Regions from separate parts of the Homo sapiens genome. Here regions 1 and 2 are each linked to region 3. The links are contacts of gene promoters, found by promoter capture Hi-C in human tissues and cell types (Jung and others, 2019). All regions are on one chromosome and are shown on one strand. The core of a region is centred on a gene start or on the middle of the fragment in contact, and the rest is flanking DNA. Distances in the headings are between cores, read along the strand shown. Region 1 overlaps PEMT (phosphatidylethanolamine N-methyltransferase). Region 2 has its middle 70 kb from the start of NT5M. Region 3 holds the start of RASD1 (ras related dexamethasone induced 1).

The links. Contacts are between HindIII fragments. The study calls those that stand out against the background at their distance.
Region 1: a contact is called between a fragment that was not itself captured here and the fragment with the promoter of RASD1 in region 3, in 9 of the 25 tissues and cell types used here (H1 embryonic stem cells, IMR-90 fibroblasts, aorta and 6 more).
Region 2: a contact is called between a fragment that was not itself captured here and the fragment with the promoter of RASD1 in region 3, in 2 of the 25 tissues and cell types used here (H1 embryonic stem cells and spleen).

Annotation. Positions count from the first base shown.
Region 1 is chr17:17,585,322-17,589,107 of GRCh38, reverse strand. The region is part of intron 1 of PEMT (phosphatidylethanolamine N-methyltransferase); the gene reads left to right. It also overlaps the pseudogene EEF1A1P43. Among named protein-coding and RNA genes, the nearest start is that of PEMT, 4.5 kb to the left of the region's middle. The HindIII fragment of the contact is 6,883 bases long and covers 1-3,786 here.
Region 2 is chr17:17,371,281-17,375,085 of GRCh38, reverse strand. No RefSeq gene overlaps it. Among named protein-coding and RNA genes, the nearest start is that of NT5M, 70 kb to the right of the region's middle. The HindIII fragment of the contact is 3,797 bases long and covers 433-3,805 here.
Region 3 is chr17:17,494,491-17,498,843 of GRCh38, reverse strand. RASD1 (ras related dexamethasone induced 1) reads left to right here and starts at 2,449. Exons shown (of 2, transcript NM_016084.5): 1 at 2,449-2,948; 2 at 3,160-4,353. The coding sequence starts at 2,663. The coding sequence ends at 3,719. RefSeq lists silencers at 1,729-1,958, 2,009-2,138, 2,299-2,518. The HindIII fragment of the contact is 34,145 bases long and covers 1-4,353 here.

The DNA of each region.
Region 1 (3,786 bases), core at 1,008-3,507, 90 kb before region 3:
ATGCCTGTAATCCCAGCTACTCGGGAGGCTGAGGCAGGAGAATCACTTGAACCCCGTAGGTGGAGGTTGCAGTGAGCTGATATCACGCCATTGCACTCCAGCCTGGGCTAGAAGAGCGAAACTCTGTCTCAAAACAAAAACAAACAACCCAAAGAATCAGCCATTGGGCTGAGGAGTTAGGGTGAGGAGTGTGCCCGCTGCAGCCCCACTGACTAAGGCCCTTTTGCTCCTTGTTGCCCTCCCTGTCAGGATTCTGGAGCCTTGCTCCTCAGCTGGGCAGCTGCCTGAAGGCAGTGGGGTGGCAGATGGATGAGAGCAGGGTCTGCATCTTGCTGTCCACAGGCCGGGGCACCTCCAGGATTCAGAAGATGACTCCAGTAGGGCCTAGGGGTGCGGGCACCCAGGCTGGCAGAGCACACTGAGGTCCTCAGAGCAAGGGCACATGCCCAGGTCTCAGGTCCCTTTTCCATAGCGAATCACCTGCTCACCAGAGCGGGTGAGTGATGATGTCTCCAGCTTGGTGTTGGTGTCAAGAAGAATGGGGACAGTGAGGGGGTTATGGTGAAGACCAGAATGAGATGAGGGGTGTAAAGCTTTATGAAGTATCGAGTGCAGCCCACCTAAGGGTGGTCCTCAAGAAGGCAAAGCCCTTGTATTCAGAAGGCTGAGAGACCTGGGGCAGGGGACACAGGTCCCTGTGTGTAATATGGGCACCCGAGTAAGACCCTGGAGGCAAAGCTCCGATGGCCGATGCGGGGTATCTTGACTGCCTTTCAGGGAAAAATGTTTGCCTTTATCCAAAATCGTTTCCAAAAATCTTTTGATTGTATTACTTTAGTTGAAATAAACATTAGGCCGTTATATTAGATGAGTTACTCTGTGGTGTTTTCAAGGCCGTACATTTTGTCTTCAGTAATTTTGGCATCAGCCAAGACAGAGCAGGGTTGAGGCTTTCCGTGGCTGCTCATCAAAACAATGACAGAAACTCTTGGAGCTTGTTTCCCCTGCCTCTGTTGAGATGACACTGTTTTTCCTCATTAAGCTGTAAATATGAATTCCATTGATGTTTTGAATGTTGAACTAGCTCTGGATTCCTGGGGTGATCTCTGGCTGGTCCTAACATATTATCCTTTGTATATATTGCTGGATTTGATTTGCTCTAATTTTTGGGGGGATCTTCTTTCTTTATCTGGTTTCATTTGATTTAATTAATTTATTTATTTTAAGACAGAGTCTCGCTCTGTTGCTCAGGCATGTACTCAGGAATGCAGTGGCGTGATACCAGCTCATTGCAACCTCCGCCTCCCGAGTTCAAGCAATTCCCCCACCTCAGGCTCCCGAGTAGCTGGGATTACAGGTGCACCTACCACCACACCTGGTTTTTGTTTTGTTTTGTTTTGTTTTTTGTATTTTTAGTAGCGACAGGGTTGTTGGCCAGGCTGGTCTCAAACTCCTGACCTTAAGTGATCCACCCACCTTGGCCTCCCAAAATGCTGGGATTACAGGCGGTGAGCCACTGCACCCGGCCTGGTTTTAGTGTTAGGGTAATACAGTGAGTTGGGAAGTATTGCCTCCCTCTTCCATATTCTGGAAGAGATTGTGTGGAATTGGAATTATTTTTTCCTTAAATGTTAGGCAGAATTCATCCAGGAAACCATCTGGGCTCAAGGCTTTCTTTTTTTAGGTTTTTAAGCCATAAATTCAAATCCTTTAAAAGATAAAGGATTATTTCTTGAATGAATTTTGACAGTTGTGTCTTGCAAGGATCGGTTCATTTCATCTAAGTTACTTAATTTGTGTTATTCATAGTATTCCCTTATTATTACTTTAATGTTTGTGAGGTCAGTAGAGAAGTCCCCCCTTTTATTTCTGATATTGATATTTTGTGTCTTTTCTCTTTTTTTCTTGGTCAGGCTGGCTGGAGGTTTCTCAGTTTTATTGGGAAAATAAATTTTCCCCAAAGAACCAGCTTTGGGTGTAATTTTTTTTTCTCTATTGTTTTCCTGTTTTCAATTTGATTGATTTTTGCTTATCTTTAATTTTTTGTCCTGCCTCCTTTGGGTTTAACTCATTCCTCTTTCTCTAATTTCTTTCTTTCTTTTTTTGAGACGGAGTCTTCCTCTGTTGCCCAGGCTGGAATGCAGTGGTGCAATCTCGGCTCACTGCAACCTCCGTCTCCCGGGTTCAAGCAATTCTCCTGCCTCAGCCTCCCAAGTAGCTAGGATTACAGGCGCCCTCCACCACGCCTGGTTAATTTTTGTATATTTAGTAGAGATGGGGTTTCACCATGTTGGCCGGGCTGGTCTTGAACTCCTGACCTCAAGTAATCTGCCTGCTTCAGCCTCCCAAAGTACTGGGATTATAGGCATGAGCCACTGCGCCCAGCCACTCTTTCTGTAATTTCTTAAGGGCAAAGCTTATATTCCTGACCTGGGACTTTTCTTCCTTACTAATAGAAGCCCTGCCTTAGCCGCATCCCACAGGGTTTCATGTGTTCTATTCTCATTTTCATTCAGTTCAAAATGTTTCTAGATTTCCCAAGACTTCCCATTTGGCCCTCGCGTGCATTCTTTCCACGATCGCTTTCTGTGACTGATTTCGAGTTTAATTCTGTGGTGGTTTGGGAGCATACTGTGTATGCTTTCTATTCGTTTAAATTTAAGGTTTGTTTGGTGGCCCCAAGTGTGATCTGTTTTGGTGACACCAGAGACTGCAGGCTGTTCCCAAGGCTGCCATGTGCTGTGGTCAGGTCCAGCCACTGGATGGCGCTGCTCAGGTCAGCTGCGTCCTCCCGATTTTCCACCTGCGTTTTTTTTTTTCTTTCTTTCTTTCTTTCTTTCTTTCTTTCTTTCTTTCTTTCTTTCTTTCTTTCTTTCTTTCTTTCTTTCTTTTTCTTTCTTTCTTTCTTTCCTTCCTTCTTTTTCTTTTTCTTTCTTTCTTTTTCTCTTTCTTTTTCTTTCTTTCTTTCTCATTAGATTTTTTTTAATGGGTCTCAAAAATCTGTGACAATTTTTTTTTTTTTTTTGAGACGGAGTCTCGCTCTGTCGCCCAGGCTGAAGTGCAGTGGCGCCATCTTGGGTCACTGCAAGCTCCACCTCCCGGGTTCACGCCATTCTCCTGCTTCAGCCTCCCGAGTAGCTGGGACTACAGGCGCCTGCCACCACGCCCAGCTAATTTTTTTAATTTTTTAGTAGAGACGGGGTTTCACCGTGTTAGCCAGGATGATCTCGATCTCCTGACTTCATGATACGCCCGCCTCAGCCTCTCAAAGTGCTGGGATTACAGGCATGACTCACCGCGCCCGGCCCGACAAATTTTTGGTCAAGTTGTTTCCATTCAAAAGTACTGATTTTAAAAACTAATAACTTAAAACTGCCACAGGCAAAAAAGAAAACCAAAGTGGTCCACAAAACATTTTCCTTTCCTTCTAAAGGTTTTATGATGCATTGTTATCATTAACCAGTCTTTTACTACTAAATTTAAATGGTCAATTGAAACAAACAGTTCTGAGACGTTCTTCACCACTGATTAAGAGCGGGGTGGCAGGTATTAGGGATAATATTCATTTAGCCTTCTGAGCTTTCTGGGCAGACTTGGTGACCTTGCCAGCTCCAGCAGCCTTCTTGTCCACTGCTTTGATTCTCTCAGTCACTGAGAGGACCATGGAGGGCCCTAACAAGAACTGTGGATTTGTCTTTTCCACCCTTTAGTTCTGTCAGCTTTTGCTTCATACCTCACCTCACTTCTTTTTGTTGTTGTTGTTTGTTTTTGAGATGGATTCTCGCT
Region 2 (3,805 bases), core at 1,082-3,581, 120 kb after region 3:
TGTGCTGTCATCCAGCCTTTGGTTTTCCATTTCTAGAGCACAGGCAGAGTAGATCTAGCATCATTCTTAAGGGCCCTAGGATTTGGGGATGGTAAATGACAGTTGCATTAGCCCCTAACAAGAGTTATACTATCCTTTTGAAGCTTTGAAGCCAGGCATTGACTTTCTGTACTCTAGCTATGAAAGTCCTAGATGGCACCTTCTTCCAATAGAGTGCTCTTTCATCCTCACTGAGAATCTGCTGTTTAGTGCAGCCACCTTCATCGGTGATCTCCACTAGATCTTCTGGAGAACTTGCTGTAGTTTTCTCCATCAGCACTTGCTGCTTCACCTTGCACTTTTATGTTATGGAGTGGGTTTCATTCCTTAATATGGAGTGGTTTCATTCCTCATGAACCAACCCGTGCTAGCTTCCAACTTTTCTTCTGCAGCTTCCTCACCTCTCTCAGCCTTTATAGAATTAAAGAGAGTTAGGGCCTTGCGTTGGATTAGGCTTTGGCTTAAGAGATATTGTGGCTGGTTTGATCTCTCCAGACCGCTCAAACTTTCTCCATACCAGGAATAAGACTGTTTCACTTTCTTATCATTTGTGTGTTCACTGGAGTAGCATTTTAATTTCCTTCAAGAACTTTTCCTTCGCCTTCACAACTTGGCTAAGTGTTTGGCACAAGAGGCCTAGCTTTCAGCCTATCTTGGCTTTCAACAGGCCTTCCTCACTAAGCTTAATCATTTCTAGCTTTTGATTTAAAGTGACAGACATCAGGTATGGTGGCTCATGCCTGTAATCCCCACACTTTGGGAGGGTGAGGCAGGAGAATCGCTTGAGCCCAGGAGTTCGAGGCTGCAGTGAGCTATGATCGCACCACTGCACTCCAGTCTGGGCAACAGACCGAGACCCTGTCTCAAAAATAAATACATAAAGTGAGAGACCCAAAACTATTCCTTTCACTTGAACACTTAGAGACCATTGTAGACTTATTAGTTGGCCTAATTTCGATATTGTTGTGTCTCAGATAATAGGGAGGCCCGAGGAGAAAAAGACAGAGAACAGCCAGTTGGTGGACTAGTTGGAACATATGCAACACATTAGTTCACTTTCTTATTGGTTTATGGTGCCCCCAAACAATTACAATAGTAAGATCCAAGAGGACTGGCCACAGATCACCATAACAGACACAATAATAATGACAAAGTTTGAAATATTGTGAGAATTACCAAAATGTGACACAGAGACACAAAGTGAACCCACGCTGCTGGAAAAAATGGCACCGATAGACTTGCTGGATGCTGGGCCACCGCCAACCTCCAATCTGTTCTTGTTTTTTTGTTTTTTTTGTTTTTTTTGTTTTTTTTTTGGGACGGAGTCTCACTCTGTCACCCATGCTAGAGTGCAGTGGCACGATCTCAGCACTCTGCAATCTCTGCCTCCCGGGTTCAAGCGATTCTCCTGCCTCAGCCTCCCAAGTAGCTGGGATTACAGGTGCCCGCCACCACGCTCGGCTAATTTTTGTATTTTTAGTAGAGATGGGTTTTCATCATGTTGGCTAGGCTGGTCTCAAACTCCTGGCCTCAGGTGATCCACCTGCCTCAGCCTCCCAAAGTGGTGGGATTACAGGCCTGAGCCACCATGCCCAGCCAAACCTCCAATCTTGTAAAAACAATGCAGTATCTGCAAACAGCAATGAAGCGAAGTGTAATAAGCAGGCCTGCCGGCATTTGCACTGCCCTAGGCAGAGGTAAGGGAACAGCCAAGAGGCGTGGAGGCCCCCAAAGGGCAGCAGCAGTGGGCAGCTACTACCCCCAGGGCTGCCCCATTGTGACCCTGTGAGAGGCCGGTCCCAAGCAGATACATCCCCCTCCCTCCCATCCCCAGTCTGTGCTGGGAAGCCAGAGACAGGGAAATGCAGGCTGAAGGGGCAGCATCCAGAACAGCCTGGAGAAGGGTGGAGGCTGCACATGTGGTGAACCTGTGAACCAAAAACTATCTGAGACAGGTCTCAGTCGATTTGGGAAGTTTATTTTGCTAAGGTTAAGGAGCTAAGATGGTGCTATGATCACGCATCCGTGACACAGCCTCAGGAGGTTCTGACAACAAGGTGGTCAGGGCACTCTTGGTTTCATACATTTCAGGGAGAGAGAAGACGTCAGTCAGTATGTGTAAGATGTACATTGGTTCGGTCCTGAAAGCAGGGACAACTCGAGGCCGGGGAGGGACTTCCAGATCATAGGTAGATAAGAGACAAACAGTTGCATTCTTTGGGGTCTCTGATTAGCCTTTCACTGAATACACAATTTACCTGTGAGAGGAGGGTAGAGGAATAGTCACTGATACCTTAGTCTGGCTCAGTGAAACAACAGGGCAAAGGAGGCGATCAGAGGTGCATTTGTCTCCGGTGGGCAGAAGGATGGCTTTGAGCTCTGTCCGTCCCTCATCCAAGGAATTTCCTTGTGGGCAAGTTGTGAGGGAGGTATGTAGCTTTTTTTTCTTCAACTTTTATTTTAAGTTCTGGGGTACATGTGCAGGATGTGCAGGTTTGTTACATAGGTAAACGTGTGCCATGGTGGTTTGCTGCAGAGATCAACCCATCACTCAGGTATTAAGACCAGCATCTATTAGCTATTCATTAGGATAAAGAAAGTGGGCTGGGCCCAGTGGCTCATGCCTGTAATCCCAGCACTTTGGGAGGCCAAGGTGGGCAGATCACAAGGTCAGGAGATTGAGACCATCTTGGCCAACATGGTGAAACCCTGTCTCTACTAAAAATACAAAAATTAGCTGGGCGTGGTGGCGGGCGCCTGTAGTCCCAGCTACTCGGGAGGCTGAGGCAGGAGAATCACTTGAACTGGAGGCGGAGGTTGCAGTGAGCCGAGATCGCGCCTCTACACTCCAGCCTGGGCGACAGAGCGGGACTCCGTCTCAAAAAAAGAAAGAAAGAAAATGTGGCATGTAGGCTTTTTTTTTTTCAATCTTTGTAGCCATCTTATTTAGGAATAGAATGGAGGCAGGTTTGCCTGACACAGTTCCCAGCTTGACTTTTCCCTTTGGCTTAGTGATTTGGGGATCCTGAGATTTATTCTCCTTTCACAAACCTTATTTTATAAATGAAGACATAAAGATGGCCCAGAGAGATTCAGTAACTTGCCCAGGGCTGCAGAGCTCCTAAGTGTTAAAGAAAGTGTCAAAGAATGAGCAGGCAGCCACCATGCCTAACAGCCCCCAGAAACACAGAGGGCTGTGGAGAGATGACTACTCTGAGGGGAGGTTTGGAAATGACTTTTCCCAGAAGCTGAGAGCCAAGGCCAAGTAGGGGTGGAAGGAGGGAGAGAGTGGAGTAAAACTCCAGGTAGAAGCATCAGCTTGTGCAGGAGCCTGAAGGCAGACAGAATGATTGCCACGTGGGGAGCCAGGCGAGTGTGCAAGGCTCCCAAACATTGAATGACCAGAGGTCACTCTTGTCGCCATTTTGGTTTTGGTGGGTTTTGGCCGGCTCCTTTACTGCAACCTGTTTTATCAGCAAGGTATTTATGACCTATATTTCATGCTGACCTCCTATCTTATCCTGTGATGATAAGCTGGTGACTGTCCTCCCCACCAGCTCCCATGTGCACATCTAGATGCAAGGGGCCCTGGGAAGTACGTTTCTGGCCCAGTATGAGGGAGATTCCTCAGACACACAAAGGGTGACTTAGAATGCCTGAACTGTCTGGGAATGCAGCACGGTAGGTTTCAGCCTCATTTTACCCAGCTCCTATTCAAGATGGAGTTGCTTTGGTTCAAACGTCTCTGACACTTCCAGAGCTGTAG
Region 3 (4,353 bases), core at 1,200-3,699:
TCAGGAGATGCCACCCCACAGAATTGGTGGCTAGGCTGTCCTGGGTGTGGCCGAGAGAGGCCTGATCCCAGTGCTTCTTTCATTCTGGTCCTTTCTGAAATGGCTTGGGTTTTTAAAAAACCATGAGCATTTATTACTTTTGTAATAAAAGGAAAGAGATGCCCTTTTAAAAGAAAAGACGAGGGCGGAAACAAGGAAGTTGGCTTGCTGCTTGAGGAGTAAAGTCCCAGAGGCCACCTCCTTGACAGGAGGCGCTCTGGGGCATTCAGAATGGGAATGGCAGGTGGGCCTGGGTCTTCACAACCCAGCATCCGTAGGGCAGACGGCCATGCACAGATGGTACCAGGAATCACTGTGGCTGAGGACACAGGCTAGATCAGTGCCTGCCAGTGTCATGTTCCTGATTTAAGGGGCCAGCCTGGACACTGACCAGGGGAGAGCTGGGCTGTGATCCTTGACCCTCGGGCCCTCCACTCATATCAAATGGACCCTCTTGGGACTAGAGCCCCAGGAGGCAATGGCTGTGTGGGGTCCACCTTCACTATAGCCCTGGCCATCAGTCATCCCAAGTTAGAGCCCGGCTGCCCATGCAGTGCCGCTGTGGGAGGCACAGGAAGGCGGTGCTCAGTCTGAAGGTGGTTCAGGTCCGTACCTTAACTGAGCCCCCCCATGTACCCTCAACTGGCTCCTTTATGCAGTGAACACCCTGCACCACTGCAGCCCTATATCCAGGGCTGCGACTCAGTTCCTTCTCCCCTTCTCCCAGACTCTGGCAGACATACCTCAGATGGGGGCAGGAACCAAGAATGGCGGGGCTCCAGCCCCAGCTAGCCTGTCGGATAACTGCTGCATAAGTGACACCAGGAATCAGAGCCAGGCCAGGGCCACTGATGAGCCCTTGGATGCTCACTGTGTGATGCGTGCATTTGAAATATCTGACAGTAAGAGTGAGGCCTGGGAGAGATGCAGGGACTCTGAGGATGGGGGCCAAGCTGGGCTGAGAAACAAGTTAGTGGTGTCCTGCAGCAGCCCCTACAGCAAGTGCCAGCGTGGGAGGGAGGTGGGTAGGCATGGGGTGGGTGGTATGGCACTCACAGCACTGCCTGCAGACCACCACCTGACAGCTGGGCCGGTGGTGCCAGCTAATGGCTCCCTAGTTTTCTCGTAAGTCAGACGTGGCCAAAGCAAAACACTGAGCACACAGGTTGCCTTGAGGAGCAGTGACTGCCTCAAGAGCTCAGGGCTGAGGAGCTGGCTCCAGACAGCCTGTTGCCAATGTTCAGCAACATCACCCCACTCCTGGTTACTGATCGACCTGGTGTGCTCTTGAGAGTACCCCCACCAGGCCTCATGGGTCAATACTACTGTTATTGTTGCTATTGTTATTACCAGGCCCCGCCCTCCTAAAGCATTTGCATATTTTCATCCTTAATCACAGAACCAGAATCAGTATCTTCCAGAAGAGAAAACTGAGGCCCAGGAGAAAGCAAGAGGCTGTGCTGTGCTCCCAGGGCCTTCCTGGCTCGCTGTGGCTTTGAGCTCCAGGTCTCTCAGCTAGACAATGAGAACGTCGGCCCACGCGCGGCACAGTAAAAGCCCAAAATGCTATGATGGACGGGGTGGGCCGCTGGCTGCAGAGCCCTCCATACCACAGAGCATCTCTGGCTGGGAGAAAGGAGCAGGCTGAGGCCTGCAGCAGAGCGCGGGGTTGGGGACCGCTCCTGTTGGGCCCCAGCAAGGCGCCCTGAGACCCCTGCTCCATCCCTGCCGCTCCCCACCCGCCTGCTCCTAGCCTCTGTTCTAGCTCTGCCCGCGGCGGCCACAGCCTCCCCGAGCCGCCGGCCGGGCCCTCTGCTGCCCTCTGGCGGCCCGAGCGCGCGGTGCCGAGCTCCGCGCCTGAGGCCCTGAAACCCCGCGTCCGCCCGGCGGTCGCCTCCCGGGAACAAGAGCCCGGCTGGGGACCGGAGCGGAAGGGGGCTGGGGCTGGGGCTGTGCTCTGAGGACTGCAATATACGGTCCGCGCAAGCACTCAGCAAACGCTGCTGCGCTTACTGGGTTACTTACTAGATTCCTATTCTCTGGGGAAACTGAGAACCAAAGAAAATAAGTGTACGCGCGCGGGAGGTGCAGGAATGGGGGTCCTTGCCCGAAGTCGCAGAGGGACAGGGGCACCGCCGGGACCAGAACCCCGACGCCCCTGCGGCCGCCGAGCCCGCGGCAGTGGAAAAGCGGAGTCCGAGCGCCTCCAGCCTCAGCCCGACCCTGGACTGCTCCCCCCAGCCCCCGCGCCCAGAGAGCAGGAGCCCGGCAGCGGGTGACGAGGTCGCCGGGACTGGGAGCCGGTGCGGGGGAGGCGGGCCCCGCGGGGCGTGACGCACCGAGCTGGGAGGGCCGGGGCGGGGCAGCCGAGCAGGCTGCATATAAGGGCGGCGGCCGGGCGCCAAAGCCAGAGCAAGCGGCCTGTGCCCAGATCCTGGGAGAACCCCAGCCGAGCCCAGCCTAGCCCGAGCCCAGCCCGAGCGGAGCCGGAGCCCCAAGCCCGAGCCGCGCCCAGCCCGAGCAGAGCCCTCCAGCCGCTCACCCCGCGTGCCACCCCAGCGACCCTCAGCCGCTCTCTGCCCTTCTCTCGGCCCCGCGCCCGCCCTCGCGGCCCCTCTGCCCAATGAAACTGGCCGCGATGATCAAGAAGATGTGCCCGAGCGACTCGGAGCTGAGTATCCCGGCCAAGAACTGCTATCGCATGGTCATCCTCGGCTCGTCCAAGGTGGGCAAGACGGCCATCGTGTCGCGCTTCCTCACCGGCCGCTTCGAGGACGCCTACACGCCTACCATCGAGGACTTCCACCGCAAGTTCTACTCCATCCGCGGCGAGGTCTACCAGCTCGACATCCTCGACACGTCCGGCAACCACCCGTTCCCCGCCATGCGGCGCCTCTCCATCCTCACAGGTGAGCCGGGGGCCGGGCAGGTGCGGGAGGGAAGGGCGGGGAACCCTCGGCCAGGGCGCCCCGCGAGCGCCGGTCCGGCTGCCGCGCGCCGAGTAGTGCGCTTCGCGCTTAGAGAGGCTAGCGCGCCCCGCGCGGCCTCAAAGTCAGCCCGACTTGTCCCCTGGGCGGCCACCCTCACCTTCTCCTTTTCTGCTCTCTGTGCCCCCTCTAGGAGACGTTTTCATCCTGGTGTTCAGTCTGGACAACCGCGACTCCTTCGAGGAGGTGCAGCGGCTCAGGCAGCAGATCCTCGACACCAAGTCTTGCCTCAAGAACAAAACCAAGGAGAACGTGGACGTGCCCCTGGTCATCTGCGGCAACAAGGGTGACCGCGACTTCTACCGCGAGGTGGACCAGCGCGAGATCGAGCAGCTGGTGGGCGACGACCCCCAGCGCTGCGCCTACTTCGAGATCTCGGCCAAGAAGAACAGCAGCCTGGACCAGATGTTCCGCGCGCTCTTCGCCATGGCCAAGCTGCCCAGCGAGATGAGCCCAGACCTGCACCGCAAGGTCTCGGTGCAGTACTGCGACGTGCTGCACAAGAAGGCGCTGCGGAACAAGAAGCTGCTGCGGGCCGGCAGCGGCGGCGGCGGCGGCGACCCGGGCGACGCCTTTGGCATCGTGGCACCCTTCGCGCGCCGGCCCAGCGTACACAGCGACCTCATGTACATCCGCGAGAAGGCCAGCGCCGGCAGCCAGGCCAAGGACAAGGAGCGCTGCGTCATCAGCTAGGAGCCCCGCCGCGCTGGCGACACAACCTAAGGAGGACCTTTTTGTTAAGTCAAATCCAACGGCCCGGTGCGCCCCAGGCCGGGAGCGCGCGCGGACTGGCGTCTCCCCTCCCGGCGATCCGCCCCCAGCACTGGGGAGGCGCCACTGAACCGAGAAGGGACGGTCATCTGCTCCGGAAGGAAAGAGAACGGGCCAAGACTGGGACTATTCCCCACCCCCGGTCCCCCATTGAGGCCCGCCACCCCCATAACTTTGGGAGCGAGGGCCCAGCCGAGGGTGGATTTATCTTCTCAAAGACCTAAGAGTGAGCGCGGGGTGGGGGAGGGATGTGAAGTTATCCAGCCTCTGCTAGGCTTCAAGAAACCGTCATGCCCGCTTGAGGGTCAGGACCCACGGGGCATTATCTTGTCTGTGATTCCGGGTTGCTGTGACAGCCGGTAGAGCCTCTGCCCTCCCAAAACTAAGCGGGGGGGCGTGGGTCAAATCATAGCCAAGTGACTTGTTTACATGTGAGTGAAACTGCACAAAGGAACACAAAACAAAACTTGCACTTTAACGGTAGTTCCGGTGTCAACATGGACACGAACAAAACCTTACCCAGGTGTTTATACTGTGTGTGTCTGAGGTCTTTAAA